Regions from separate parts of the Homo sapiens genome. Here region 1 is linked to region 2. The links are contacts of gene promoters, found by promoter capture Hi-C in blood cells and fetal thymus (Javierre and others, 2016). All regions are on one chromosome and are shown on one strand. Each heading gives the region's core, a stretch centred on a gene start or on the middle of the fragment in contact. The rest is flanking DNA. Distances are from core to core; before and after follow the strand shown.

What was found. Contacts are between HindIII fragments. The CHiCAGO score rates a contact against its expected background, and 5 or more counts as called.
Region 1: a fragment that was not itself captured here is called in contact with the fragment with the promoter of CST9 in region 2 in 1 of 17 cell types (total B cells); the score reaches 5.3 in total B cells.

Annotation. Positions count from the first base shown.
Region 1 is chr20:22,698,959-22,703,073 of GRCh38, forward strand. No RefSeq gene overlaps it. Among named protein-coding and RNA genes, the nearest start is that of LINC01747, 16 kb to the left of the region's middle. The HindIII fragment of the contact is 1,485 bases long and covers 562-2,046 here.
Region 2 is chr20:23,603,040-23,607,768 of GRCh38, forward strand. CST9 (cystatin 9) reads right to left here and starts at 2,878. Exons shown (of 2, transcript NM_001008693.3): 1 at 2,571-2,878; 2 at 1-695. The coding sequence starts at 2,825. The coding sequence ends at 471. The HindIII fragment of the contact is 2,472 bases long and covers 1,382-3,853 here.

The DNA of each region.
Region 1 (4,115 bases), core at 54-2,553, 910 kb before region 2:
TTCATCTGTCATGGAATTTCCTGCTGTTCATTTTAATCTGATCTGACCTGGATAAAAATATCAAAGTGAGGAGGCAGAGAATGCTGTTTCAATAGCTTTGGACCATGAACCTATTTTACCTTAAAAATTTTATGCCAAAGAGGCTGGGTTTAAGACCAGGCAGGACAATGTGCTCCTTCTTTGGACAAAGATGTCACAAGTGCCCCCGTCCATTGTGATGACAAGAGTCTCTGCTGTCCTCCTGCAGTGGTGGTAACTGTGCACTGATTTTTCACCTGCTGTCTTCCCTTCAGGCCATGGAGTGAGAGCGGGCAGCCTCTTTCCCAGTTAGGGCTCTGAGACAGAGTCGTGCCAATTGAGCATACAATCTGATGACCTCTGTGCTTCCAATTAAGTTCAGTCTCCCAACTCTCTGCTCAGCTTCACTTGATGGTTAATGGAAATGAGTTGTGTTTCTAGATCTGAGCCACACACTTGGTGTTTCCACTGTCATTTGCTGAGTGCAAGTGCAGTATCAAATGGCTCCCCTCTGTGCCTCACAGGTGAGACCTAGGAATCCAAAGCTTTCACCTCCTCTGCTCCACCCCATTATCCGTGGATGCAACTATTGCACGTGGGCCTGCCCTGTGAGGCTGTGGGCGACATTGCAACAAGATTCTCTGCTGCCAGTTTGTAGCCCCTAAACCCAGTGCATCCCTGACATCCAGCACCAGTGAGGAACATTGCAGAATGAACTGGTGGTGGCCAATTCAGCAGCCACAGCATCTTCAGTGGTTTAATGTAAATATACACAATTATGAAAACAATGCCCTGCAATTGTGCTCAAAGTCTTTGCCACAACAACTCCTCTCCTCTTCTCCTTGCCGTAATTCTCTCTTCCTATCTTATGACTTAGGAGGTTCAATCTATTCTCCCCTTGCCAGAGGAATTCAGAACGCTGTCAAACTTAAATAGCTATGTAATGTATCTATGGGCAGGTTGGCTGTGGGAGGCTTGGAAGTCAATGGTATTTTAAATATTCTCTCTCTGTGTTCAAGACTGGACCTCAATGTGTCTGGACAAGTAGAGAGAAAGAAATGGCAGTAAGACCTGCCCTGTCTCTGTTCAGTGTGCAGTGGGAAAGTCCAACTCTTCACTCATGCAGGCATCCTCTGATAGGCACAGTAGTGTTTGTGTGCATGTGTGTCATGCATGTGCATGTACATGCATGTGTGTGCACATGTGTGCGCATGTGTGTGCTGAGCTACCTGTAAAGAGTAAAGCAGTAATTACTCCCGATGAGCTGGACAGAAGCCTCCCTCTTTACTGGAGAGAACGACTTGAAACTGAGTGTGGCAGGGTTGGGGGAGAGAGTGCTGGCACCAGCAGCTGCTTTAATAATGCCACTCACCTTTGCTGATTAATATGCTTGTCAAAATAAAAGGCAAATGGAAATGACCCCACAGCACAGAGAGTGGGATGGGATTGGCCGAGCCATCTGGCCCCAGATTAATTGCTAGCACTTTCATCTCCTCTCCTGGGCTCCAGATACAATGGGATGATAATGGAAAAGAAATGCACCCAGATCTGTCTATCTTGCTCCTTGTATTCATAGCTGGGCCCAGAGCCAGTCATGCTTTGCTGGCATTTAGTTCCCCAGGGGGTTGAAAGAACTCAGGCATCTTTCCCAGAAAAACACTCTCCAAAGGCCTCAACAGTTTGCAGCAGAGCTCTACTGTAGCTCTACTCAGCTTCATCAATAAGGGCACCATAGGGCAAAGCAAAACAGCTTCCCACCTGAAAACAAGAGCACCCTATCAGAGGAACTCTAAGAGGTCTGTTTGCTTTACCCAGAAATGAATGCAGCTGAGTTAGGAGGCCCAGGAAGGGAAGAGCTTGTCCACAGCAGGGATAATGGAGAGGCACTCCTGATAGCAGACTGGAAAGAGTTGGACACTTTGGTCTGCACAAATGGATCTTGAGTTACACTGGAATTGTAGATGATATAGACAATGAAAATGGTTATTCCCACAGCCCAGAATAATGGCACTAGGAATCATCCCAGGAAGCTTCAAAGGAGCTCTGTACTTATAGTTCAAAAAACAGCTTGCATTTTGGGGAAGAAACAGTGAAATGCTATGTTTTCACCAAAAATGCTTTATTTTCCCCCTAGATATACAGAAAGAGGATATTTCCATGTCCCTTTTGGTTGAGGGTAGGGAATCTGACTTTGTTCTGGTAATAGGATGTGGGTGCAGTGAGGTAGCTTGATCCTGAAGCCTCCCATGGGGTCTCTGTGTTCTCTCTATTCCATCTCTGCTTCTCTTGTGGAGGTCCTAAAGGAAGGTGGAGCAACAAGAGAGAAGGATCCTGGGTCCCTTAGTGACTCTGTGGAGCACAGCCACTCCCACCCCTACCCCCAGCTACTCCTCTGAGCCAAAGTCAGGGCAAACAAGGAATAACCTCCCTAGTGTGCTAAGCCTCCGTAACAAAGTACCGCAGGCTGGGTGCCTTAAGACAAGAGAAAGGTATTGTCTCACATTCCCGGAGCTTGCCCTGGGCCATGTTCACTATCAAGGCTCCAGGGAAGGATCCTTCCTTCCTCTTTCTTGTCTCTGTGGTTGCTGGGAATCGTTGGCACCCCTTGGCCCATAGAGGCTCCACCCCAGTCACAGCCTCTGTCCACACGTGATGCTGTCCTTCTGTGTCTGCATGTGTCCACATTTTCCTTTCTTATAAGGACACCAGACATGGCTCAGGGCCCACCTTAAGCCAGCATGACTCCTTCCTAAGTTGATTATATCTTCAAGGACCCTGTTTCCAAATAAAGTCACATTCACAGGTACCAGGAATTAAGAGCATATCTTTTCTTTTTGGGAACACAGTTCAGCCTGTAACAGTGTCTATAATTTGGAGCTCATTTGTTACAGCAGCTGGTGTTACTTGCTCTGACTAATGTATGTCTGGCATTGGTCCCAACTTGGGCATAACTTTCTCCAGGAAGCCCTACCTTCCTGACTTCAAACCTAGATGGGGTGCTGCTTCACAGTGGGTTCTCCACATTGCCCTAAACTCCCTCTATCACAGCATTCACCATGCTGTGCCATCATGTCCTGCTCACATGGACAAGTGGACTCTTGTCTCTTCTCTGCTACACTGTTCATGCCAAAGGCAAGAATCTGCCTTTCCTGCTCCTTGTTGAATATCCTGGACCTGGCATGCAGTACATTTCTTAATCAATAGCTCTCACATGAATCAGTGGATGCTGTGAGAAAGACTGCCTGATGTGGCATAAGCAGCATCAGGTCGACTTTCTGCCTTCAAGAATCTTGCAGTCATTTATGGCCTCCTTGTTGCCAACTCCCCTGGCTTATTCTCCTCCTCATGCCCCTTGTCTTCTCTGCTTTATTCATAACTGTGGACACTCTGGAACGTGTACACATATTAATGTCATTTAAGAGTCTGGCTCCTAGAGGTTGTTATCTCAGCTCTCTGCCGCTCACCCCAGCATCAATCCCACCTTGAAACCTGCTTGTTCTCATTACTTTGGGACTCCTTGACTCTCCCCTTAAACATCACACCTCTAACAGAAGGATTTTCACTTACTCCATGCATAGAAGGTGTTGGTCACATTGAGTGGAATTCCTTCTAAATCCAGCTCCCAGTCCGTGACCTGCATGGCAGTGGCCCCTCACACTGAGAGAGTGAGTCTCCCCTTGAAACTTAGTTGCTTCTTTCCTCTATTTCTCAGAAGTATCACATCTCAGACTGTTAAAGCTGTTCTCGTGGAACCATTGTAGCCCTCAGGGATGGCCGGGTCCTGATGATCACTTTGTCCACAAGCACTGATGTTTTTTAACTTAAAAAAATTGACTTTGTTTTTGTGTATTCATTTATATTTTTTAGAGACAGGGTCTCACCCTGTCACCCATGTTGGAGTGCTGTGGTGTGATCATAGTTCACTGCAGCCTTGAACTCCTAGGCTTAATTGATCCTCAGCCTCCCAAGCAGCTGGGACTACAGGTATACACCATCATTCCTAGCTAATTAAAAAAATTTTTTTGTAGTGACAGAGTCTCACTATGTTGCTTAAGCTGTTCTCAGACTTCTGGCCTTAAGTGAGCCCCCTGCCTCAG
Region 2 (4,729 bases), core at 1,628-4,127:
GCAGTTCCCAGACTTAGGCAATTAGTTACCTATTTGTTAATCTTACAATAAGGGGGTTGACTAAGAATGGGAAGTTTTCCCAGAGCCAGGCTTTGCTTGGAGCTCGTCCCCTAGAGCAGGTGCTGCAGCTCAGCAGGGCCTAGGAGCGAGGGCAGTGGGGCTTCTTCTCAGCCTCCACCACTTTTGGGTCTAGGGCAGGGTAGGGAAACCCTGAGAAAAGTACCCACAGACATTGTCACCATTGTCTCCAGGCTCTTTCTCTAGAAGGCAGGGAAGAAGTGGGGAGGAAGACCAGAGAGAAGGTTCTGAAGGCCATGTGGCCCAGGTGCAGGCAGCTGCAATGGTGTCAGAGGGCAGAATCAGGAAACTCAGATTGGCCAGGGGCCTGAAAGTGAACCCCTGGGCTTAATGCCTCACTGGGCTTCCCACTAAGGCACAAGCAGGGCAGCCTGGTACAGCCTGCTGTGGGCTCACTTCCCTTTGTCCCTCGGAATGGCTTTGTCAGCTGCTCCTGTGCCCACACCACACCCCATGCAGCATCCACAGCTGTGGACCTGAGGAAAGCTGATGCCCTGTCTTACGTTGTTCAGCTCCAGGCTTTCTTGAAAAGGGCAGTTGTCAATGTCATCTTCAAATTTCCTACATACGGTTTGGCGCAGTTGCAGATTCATGGAGAACACCATCTTACCTCGCCACTGTTGGACAAAAGAAGATTAAAGTGGATGCACCGTCTTCCTGCCCCTAAGTAGCTACTAGTGAAGATGCCATTTGAGTAGGAGAGGCCCCAACACTTTACTGCATTTGAGAGCTTGCCCATGGGCCTGGCATCAGCTCACTGGAGGTGAAACCCAGGGGATCTTCTCTAGACTGAGGAGTTAAGAGCAAAAAGCAGGTGGGCATGGTGGGTCTGGGGAGGATGCAGGCTGAGTCAGACCCCACTAACACATTATCCACCTCCACCCACCCCCATTTCCCACGGTGAGACTCCAGCTTCACTCTCAGTAGGCATCTGATCTTGCAGCTGCATTCCCAGAGGACAGAGCCACATGTCCGGGAGGGTGTTGGATCTCCAAGAGTTTTCAGGGTAACTTCAGCCCTGGGACAGAGGGAGCCTCATCTACAGTGTGTTGTCAAACCTTCCAAGTGACCTCCAGCAAGAAGAATGACACACAGCGCTCCCACTACACACAGGCACACACCCTGGGAAAATGGGTTCAAGAAATACCATCTGCCCTATTGCAAAGTGCATGCTGAAGTTCTCCTTGCCCTCCTTCCCACTCCATTCTATTTAATTCCACTCCATAGCCTCCCTCTCACCCATCTATTCTTCCCAGCCCCCAAACTGATGCTGGGATTGCCATATCCAGGAAGCCATGTGGAAAGCTTTTAGGACTTACTGTCATTTAGGACTTATAGACCATAGTAAGGAGCTTAGATTTTATTCTAACGGTATTAAGAATGGAGGCTTACACTGAGGTCTTGGAGAATCAAGCAAAGCACTGGGAAAGCAGAAGCATGAGGCCTGGCCAATCTCAATCTCTGAGACTTCCAAGGTTCCAGCATGAATATTAGCAGCCACCATTACTGGACCAGATGCCCCTCTGAGGGTTGCATCAGGCTTTTAATTCTCCTGAGAGGAGGCAGCAAATGAGCAAGGAGGAAAATTCCTCTGTACCAGCATTGGAATCCTGAGGATGGCAGTGAGGAATCCACCCCAGGAGGCAGAGAACCAGCCAGAGCCTTGCACAGAGTCTTTCCAGAGCTTAAGCTCTGTGCGGTACTAGAGTCCCTCTGCCTTTCTTTCAGGCTCTTGGTGCTGAGAAAGGAAGAGCAATGCTCCTTCTCTCTCTAAACCAGAAGTTCTCCACTAGGAGGGCATTTTAATTGTTCATGCCTGAAGCCCAGATGAACTGTGCATTCCTGACCACATTTAATGATTTCATCAAAAAGGCAAGCATTTTAGGATAAAGGTCCATTGAGGAAGAGTGTAAATTGGCCTTCAGTTCATTAAGTGCAGACAGAGCAAGGAGCCCAGAGAAGGTGGAGATCAGAGAACTAACCTTTCACGGTGGCCTCTCAGGGCTGATGGTGTTCTTTATTGCCCTCGAATTCTCACTGTTCTCTCTCTGTCTGCCTGTCTCTCTCTCTCTCTGTCTCTCTCTCTCTGTCTGTCTGTCTCTCTCTGTCTCTCTCTCTCTCTCCCTCTGTGTGTCCTTGCTTTTCCATTTTCATTTTATGACCTGGAAATGTTTATCAGTCTCTTTGGTTATTTTCTCTTCTTGTCAGCTTCATCTCCTTAGAAGTCCTTATTTTGAAGTCACTCTTCAGTTATACAATGTCTTAAAAATCATGAAGATTGAAAAATATATTTTGCATGTGAATAGACATTTACCTAATTTAAAAAAAATTTTAAGTTCAATGTTTTCCAAAACTAAAACTACCGTAATTGGTTGTGGACTACCTGACTATGGACTGCTGATGGTGAACCAAGTCTCCTAGACTAGACATCTTGGTCCCTCACTTAGGGGCAGATGGAGAAGGACAGGCCAGAAGAGGATGTGGTCACCAACCTTTCTGTCCATGCTATCCTCCCTCCATGAACTCAGGACGCGCAACAGCCTGTAGGCATGCTCCTCCTTGCTCTGCACGTTGAAAGTGTTCAAGGCAAACTCCACTGTGGCGAGGAACATAGGATCCTGGACTATTTTATTATTACCACCCATTTCCTCTTCAGAACACCAGGCATAAGTCACCAGGAGCTGGAAGCCCATGAGAAGCAGTGACAGTGCCCAGGGCATAGCCTTCCTCCTCTGCGGACTCGACATGATGCAGGCTCCAGCAGCCCTTGCCTTTGCCCTTCAGATCCCTGGCGTCCACTGGAGCCTTCCAGGGCTCAGGTCTGGCCTTTAAATTCACCTGCTGGGGCAGAAACTCCTCCCTCCAGGCCTCACCTCTGCAGTTACACCCTGTCTCTCCCACACATGGCCTCCCTTCTTCCAAAGGCGTTTAAATCATCTCCTGTTTAGGGGAGAGGAACAGCACCCAGGCAGGTGGGTTGGAAAAGACTAGCAATGGGAGAGATAGTGCCCTGAACATGAGGCCCAGCCCCAGCTGCCCCAGCACCTCCGCAGGCTAAAGGAGACCTCTACTGGGCGCCCCAGAGTCAGAGCCCGGCACAGGAACACAAGTGTGAGAGGTATGAGTGGAAGGTGAGCCCTGGACTCAGCAGTGGGGGTGGGCTGGGAGGGGGAGGTTAGGTGGAAAGGCAGAGACAAAAGGATGGAAAGGGATGACAGTGGATGCTAGTATCATGGGTGAGCAGGTACAGCGCCCCGAGAAAGCACTGGGCCTCTTGAGAGAGAGGCGGGGAGCCCGGGAGGATTGGCGGGATGTCCTGCAGGTGTCTGCTCCCCCGAGGGTCTCGGGAGGGGGGCACCAGCCTGGGGGTCGTGGGCAGAGGTTGAGGAAATCAAGAGCAGGAGCCCCCAACCCTGTTCTCTGCACCTCCCTAAATGCAGCTTCCCAGCCCAGGGACGCGCTGCCAAGTGCTGGTACTAGGGGCCTGGCTAGTTATGGCTGCCCCTATTCCTCAAAGGTGTTTCCAGGACGGGTGGCCGCTTGCAATTGGAGCAGTGGAGAACCAGAAAGACGAAGATGCCCTCAGGGATGGCTGAAGTGCACCCATTAGGTTGTCACGGGTTCCCTCCTGTGGCCACAGCCGGCACAGCACTCTGCGGCACAGTTTGTGGGTGGAGATTCTGAGTTCTCGACCAAGACCCACATAGCCTCCAACTCCAACCGCAAATGGGGCTCTCAAAAGACTGAATAATGCACTCTTCACAGACCAGACTTAAGCTTTGTCCCTGTGAAATATGCCTTTGATGTTTATCCGTAGCTCCTTGTAAACTTCAGAAGCAACCAGCATCCCCTGATGTCACGTTAAAAAGCAAGTTCCTAGTTTCCCCACCCAAAGATTCTGACCCAGTAGCTGTGAGCAGGGCCAGGGAAACTACATTTCTCACCAGCTTCCAGAGGATGGTTGTGTTCCCGGTCTCAGAACCATACTTTGAGTGGTGCAGGTTCAGAATACTTCCTGGGAAGTGCATACAGACCAAACCACATATGAGAAGTAACTCAGCTTGAGGGGCATGGAGGTCAGGGGATGAGAATGGCTTTTGTGGGGCACACAGGATGGGGGACAGGCTTAGACAGCATGCCTGGTGATAAAGAATAAGAGTTTGTTTCTAGACCCTGTTTGCAAAGAAAAAGCAACTCAATGTGACAATTCCAGGAAAGCAGCCAGATGTGCCAAAAACATCACCCAAGGAGTCTGTATCCTTTCTCTGATGGCGTTGAGTTCACTGGAACTGCAGCTGAAGCGTAACTAATGTGGTTTCTTAGCTGGAGAGTGATGGTGCACGTAGGGGTAGGAAGGGGGTGTCAGTGAGGGCGGAAATGCCTTTGTGGGTTTTGGGATGAGCAGGCCATAAGGTGCTGTGAGAACTAGAATCCTGATGCCTGGAATAGGTTGCGAGTGTCCTGAGAGAGGCCTGCAATGCCCATGGAGGTCACTCTCACCTTGTAAGTTCAGCGGCTGACAAACTTGGGGCATCCTGCCAATTGCCAGTGGCTCCCCCACCATTCTGAGGGCCGATACCCACATGTGCTCCAAGGGAGTGCCCACACTCACTCTTACATGAGCAGTGGTTTAGGGTCCTGGGCACCAGCT